Linked DNA regions of Homo sapiens: region 2 is linked to region 1. Evidence: promoter capture Hi-C in 16 types of primary human blood cells and fetal thymus (Javierre and others, 2016). All regions are on one chromosome and are shown on one strand. The core of a region is centred on a gene start or on the middle of the fragment in contact, and the rest is flanking DNA. Distances in the headings are between cores, read along the strand shown.

Region 1 (2,875 bases), core at 376-2,875:
GCTCATGCCTGTAATCCCAGCACTTTGGAAGGCCGAGGCGGGTGGATCACGAGGTCAGGAGATCGAGACCATCCTGGCTAACACGGTGAAACGCCGTCTCTACTAAAAATACAAAAAATTCTCCTTGAGTGGTAGCGGGCGCTTGTAGTCCCAGCTACTCCGGAGGCTGAGGCAGGAGAATGGCTTGAGCCCGGGAGGCGGAGCTTGCAGCGAGCCGAGATCGCACCACTGCACTCCAGCCTGGGTGACAGAGCGAGACTCCGTCTCAAAAAAAAAAAAAATTAAATTAAATTAAATTAAAAATTAGCTGGGCGTGGTGGCGCTCGCCTGTAGTCTCAGCTACTCGGGAGGCTGAGGCAGGAGAACTGCTTGAACCTGGGAGGCAGAGGTTGCAGTGAGCCGAGATTGCGCCACTGCACTACAGCCTGGGCAACAGAGCGAGACTCTGTCTCAAAAAAAAATAAAAATAAAAATAAAAAAAAAAAAGATAAAAAGGAACAGCCCCTGGTCCAAAATCCCAGATAAGGTAGAATCATTTTTTTTTTTTTTTTGAAACACCAAGTGCGAGTCAGCCTGGGTTTTTAGACCTAAATCTAAAAATGTATTGAACACCTGTATGATTTCATAAATATTGCCCTGATTGACGAGGCACCCCAAAGAAAGGCAGAACTGGATTCAACATGGAAAGAAAGTATCCCAAGAAGCCAGCCATGAGAGTGACAGTCCCATCTGTGCTACAAGAGTAAGGCTACTGAGGTTGAGATGCAAGAGCTTTGTGCTGGGGGGCCACAAGACAGAGCAGATCCGGAATCCAGGCAACCTTCACTTCCAGCCTGAAGACTCTCCTACGAACTATGATAGTAAATGATGGAGAGGCCCTAGGGTTTGGGATCAAACAATTCTGGTTTGAGCACGCACCCCGCCCCACAATCCTTCCTTCTGCCATTTTACTTAATCTTGCTGAACCTGTTTTCCTCAGCCAAAAAAAAAAAAAGCTCGCATAGTGGCTGAACTAATTATGTGAAATATGTGAAATGTGCTTTGCAGCAGGTGGCTTTTAAACTATTGACCAGAAAACACATACACTGAAAAAAAAAATTTTTTTTACATTATAAGCCAGTATACACATATAAGTATATACAATTGAAACAAGAGTTTCACAAAAACTGTACTTACCTTACTACCTGGGAGTCACTTGGTATATTACTATTGTATTTAATTTTTTATATGCTGATTGCAACTCACTACATTGTTTTCACTCCTAATGGGTAGTTTTTTAAAAACACTTTTCAAAACCATGCAATTATCAGTTATTACGAAGATTAGTAAGATTCTCAGGAATGGTCTGATGGCTAGGAATCTTCATTGCCAGGGAAACAAAGGAAAAAGGTCAAGGTTATTAGGTCAAGCCCTTGGGAGCCCTGTTGCCAAGGGAACAGATCGACCCCCGTCAGGGTTGGTTTACCCACGGTCTGCAGCCCTGTGGAGAAAAGGAGTGGCCCGTGGGCCTGTCACTCACATCAGAGTTGGGAAGCCCGCCTCCAAGCCCGGAAGACCCGCCTCCTCTGTAAGGTTAAAGGAGGAAGAGGCAGAGATTGGAGGTTCAGGCAGTGACGTAACTTGCTGCCTTAGGTGGCCTTCCGCTCTGGCGGCTGTCGCGACGGGGGTTCAGGGAATATTTACTGGGCCTCTCCGCTCCCTCTGCTCTTGGAGGTGCCATGAGGTCAGTTAGCTACGTGCAGCGCGTGGCGCTGGAGTTCAGCGGGAGCCTCTTCCCGCACGCAATCTGCCTCGGAGACGTTGATAACGATACGGTAGGTGCATGCGCACCGCAAGAGACAGCCTGGATCTGTGCAGGGACGGGGCAAGGGAAGTGGAAGAGGCCGCCCGAGCGTGCCACGTGAGCGTGAGCATGCGCGCTGTGGCTAGTTTGGAGCGCTAGAGAGAAAAACTTTATTGATAGCTTCAGTGTTCGTGGTTGGTTTTGTTCCTTGGGAGGTTTTGTTTGTTTTTTGAGACAGGCTCCGTCTGTCACCCAGGCTGGAGTGCAGTGGCTTGATTTCGGCTCACCGCAACCTCTGCCTCCCGGGCTCGAGCGATTCTCCTACCTCAGCCTCCCAAGGGGCTGGGATTACAGGCGCCCGCCACCACGCCCGACTAATTTTTGTGTTTTTAGTAGAGGTGGGGTTTCACCATGTTGGCCCAAAGTGCTGGGACTACAGGCCTGAGCCATCGTGCCCAGCCCTTCTCGTTTTTTAAATAAATTACCACAGGTCAAGCAGGTAAAACAATGCCTGGCACACAGTTTAGTGCTCACTTAAGTGTTAGTGGTGGTGGTGGTGGTGTTAGTATTTTATTCTGTTTTTCTGCAAATCTTTACTGAACTGCTCATTATGCACCAAGGACTCTGCTACATTCTAGGAATTCAAAAATGAACGAGAGAGTTCCAGTCCTCAGATAGCTCATAATCAAGCTGTGTAATAGTCACCGGATAATAAAATGTAATGAGATGCATTGACTAAAGTATGGAGAGGATTCTCCGGTGGAGCATTAAAGGGAATAGTGTCTGATGCTCTTTTTTTTGCAGACTTTATCTTTTCATTTATCATCTATTTCATAGTTCTAATGCAAAGCACTGTATTGCCCCCTTCTACCCTCTGCCCTATCTTCCTACTCGGCCTCCCTGCTTCACAGTTCCTTAACTGTCCTGTACTTATTTCCCACCGCCCCCTAGTGCTGTGATGCAGAAGGTATCTTATGAGGCCTTTTTTGGCTCTACCCTCTCTGGGGAGGAAAGAGTTATTCTCATAAATTTGTGTTATGTTTTCTGGGCTTTCGTGTTTCTTCATGAACTGCCAAGCAGTCCAATTTTATG
Region 2 (2,875 bases), core at 279-2,778, 140 kb before region 1:
TGCAGAACAACCGTGATGTGACACTTACGGTGAGTGACCCACACACCCTAAAGAGCATTGCCATCAGGAATACAGTTTTCCAAAATGCGAACCTCTCTTGGCCAAGTTTAAATAATCCAAAGTATAGTTTTCCTCAATTTACACAGCAGTTGTATTCCTGGAAATTGTCAGGTGTGTTAAAACCATGCAAAACAATGTCCTGTGTTCATTTGCAAAATGAAATTATGTTCCGAGCCCAGAGACTCCTAAGCAGAATCATGGATGTGTGGCATAAGCTTGAGAGCCATGCAGAGTGCAAAGCTGTGATTGCAGAACATGCCTGCACTTTAAGGGACAGGTCTGGAGCTACTTAATGCTAGTGGCACCCCCACAGTACCCCGACAACTAAAAACCACCCCACACATTTACTGTGCCCTCCTTAAGAGGCGACACCACTTGTGTTGAGAACCATTTGCCAGAGGGAAAGCCGGATTTGGGCTAAGCGAAAATCTCGCCAGTGCCATGTGATGTTTACATACATCGTTTTATTGAATCCTGACAACATTTCTGTGAAGTTTGCTCAGGGAACTAAAGTTCTTAGAAGCTAAGTTGCTGGCCCAAGGTTACCTGGAGAGTCCACAGCAGATTCAGGATTCAAACCCAGGCCCCAGGGAACCTAGGACTCCAGGTAGGACTCCAGGCTTGTCCCACCATGCAGTTCTTCCTTCCTGACTATGCTGGACAGGGGACCCTGGGTTTTTCCCTCCCACGTGGAAAGGGGGTGCTTGCCAGAGAAGGGAGGGGTCATCACTGCTATGGATGTGGCTATTTTGGAGGGACAGGTAGGAGGAGGAGAACCCTCACCAGCCCCTAGATTTAATCCCCAGCTGTCTCTTGGGCCCGTGGCATCTCTTCACAAAGAACCAGGAGGTAGATCCAAGGGGCTCCTCCCCAGGCATGAAATGTTTCCTCTAAGAACTTATGGCTTCTCCACCATCAGGTTTACTCCCAGGAAAGGGACTGATGATGTCACATATAATCTTGGGTATCCAGCCCAGCAGGGATGCAGCCAAGCCACCTGGCACAAAAACTCAATCGGGTTTGAAAGAAAAATCCAAACTTCCATGGGAAGAAAGCCCTCCTTCCACCAGCCCCTCCCTCCGAGCTAAGCTGAACCGTTTTGCACTTGCACTTGGAAGAGTGGCCAGTTGATGAGGGACATTTGAAGCTCTGGAATCAAATGTATCAGTTCAGTTAAAAAAAAAAAAGCGGGAAATAATTTTGATGGTAGGCTACCTTTTGCATAAAAAAAACAGGAGATAATATGTTTGATGATTTACATAACTAATTTGCACTAAGAATCTCTGAGAAAATACTCAAGAAACTAGATGATCTACAGGAGGTGGTGACTAGGCAGATAAGGGCTGTGGTGGGAGAGACTTTTGACCATAAGCCTTTTTATGGTTTTTTTTCTCTCTTTTTAAGCCATGTGAATGTATTACCTCTCCAAAAATATTAAAGTTTTAAAAAGTTTTGGATGCTGAAAAAAAAAATGAATGAAGTTCAACTGAATTCCCCTGCTCCCCTCTTACCCCCTCTCCCCTCTCCATACGTCTCAGATGATGAGGTCACCGTTGGCAAGTTCTACGCCACGTTCCTGATCCAGGAGTACTTCCGGAAGTTCAAGAAGCGCAAAGAGCAGGGCCTTGTGGGCAAGCCCTCCCAGAGGAACGCGCTGTCTCTGCAGGTGAGGGCCTGGGGGCGGGCCCACACTCCAGGAAGGTCCTGGTCATTGCCTCTGACCTCCAGTCAGGGTCCCGGTCCCTCCCCAGCAGGCTGGAGGCCAGGTCCCTGCAGAGGGAACCTTTCAGAGAGCTCCAGACCTTTCCAAAGATGGCTGTGAGAAGGGGGTGATGTGCCCTTCCCTACCTGCCACCCACCGACTGCCCTCCATGGTTCTGCCTGCTGTCATAGCCCCCAGATCTCTCAAATACTTCACTGAGGCTCCCGTGACAGCCCCTGACCCCTGGTGCCCCGTCCTAATGAGCCTTCATCCCTCCTGGATGGGCGAGTGGATTGTTCCATCAGAGGGCAGCCCAGCCCCCAGTTCACACACACACAAACCTTCCGGAGGGTCGACTGGCTGGGTGGAGGATGCCAGGGCCCTGGAGGGACAGGTCTTGGCCCGAGGCTGTGGCTGGCTGGGGAGCTTGGAGGAAAGGGAGCGTGGTCCTCACCATCCTCCCCTTGGATTCCAGGCTGGCTTGCGCACACTGCATGACATCGGGCCTGAGATCCGACGGGCCATCTCTGGAGATCTCACCGCTGAGGAGGAGCTGGACAAGGCCATGAAGGAGGCTGTGTCCGCTGCTTCTGAAGATGACATCTTCAGGGTGGGTGGTGCCATGGCGCACTCTCGACCCCTATAAAGTTCAGTTTGGAGCAAGAGGTTGGGCTGGGGTTTTGCGGGGAACGTCCAGGGGAAGGAGCTGCACCAGAGGAAAGGGCTACTTCCAGGCTCTTCCTGATGAGCTGTCTCCTCACCCCTTTGCCTTTTCCAAGCCTGACTCCATCCCAAGGCAGGGCTCCCTGGAAACAGCAGCTCTCAGTGTCACTGGCTCTCAGAGAAGCGGGAAGGAACCGCCTTCCTAAGGGAAATGTTTCCTAGGAGAAACTTCTGCATTAGAAGTTGCAGAGTGGTCACCCCTGGGGCACATCTAATCTGCAGGCTTGTTTTGTTTGTTAATATTTGAAAATCAAGACTTCTGGCATTCTTTGGAAAAGTCAGGAGACCTGGTAATATTAAGCTTGCATTCCCACAGGGCAGCAGAGGGCCGGAGCCTAGAGGCGGTGGCCCTTTGAGATGGAGCATAGCGTGTGTTCTCCAGGTCTCCAA

The links. Contacts are between HindIII fragments. The CHiCAGO score rates a contact against its expected background, and 5 or more counts as called.
Region 2: a contact is called between a fragment that was not itself captured here and the fragment with the promoter of ITFG2 in region 1, in 6 of 17 cell types (naive CD8 T cells, naive CD4 T cells, fetal thymus and 3 more). The highest score is 6.3, in naive CD8 T cells.

What each region holds. Positions count from the first base shown.
Region 1 is chr12:2,811,043-2,813,917 of GRCh38, forward strand. ITFG2 (integrin alpha FG-GAP repeat containing 2) reads left to right here and starts at 1,626. Exons shown (of 12, transcript NM_018463.4): 1 at 1,626-1,814. The coding sequence starts at 1,719. It overlaps ITFG2-AS1 (ITFG2 antisense RNA 1), which reads right to left and starts at 1,882. Exons shown (of 4, transcript NR_146317.1): 1 at 1,520-1,882. RefSeq lists enhancers at 1,173-1,922, 1,653-1,902 and a silencer at 1,453-1,542. The HindIII fragment of the contact is 13,075 bases long and covers 1-2,875 here.
Region 2 is chr12:2,675,496-2,678,370 of GRCh38, forward strand. CACNA1C (calcium voltage-gated channel subunit alpha1 C) reads left to right here. Exons shown (of 47, transcript NM_000719.7): 40 at 1,599-1,726; 41 at 2,238-2,372. It overlaps CACNA1C-AS1 (CACNA1C antisense RNA 1), which reads right to left. Exons shown (of 4, transcript NR_045725.1): 4 at 506-2,402. Among named protein-coding and RNA genes, the nearest start is that of CACNA1C-AS2, 4.7 kb to the left of the region's middle. RefSeq lists an enhancer at 1,542-2,043. The HindIII fragment of the contact is 2,511 bases long and covers 274-2,784 here.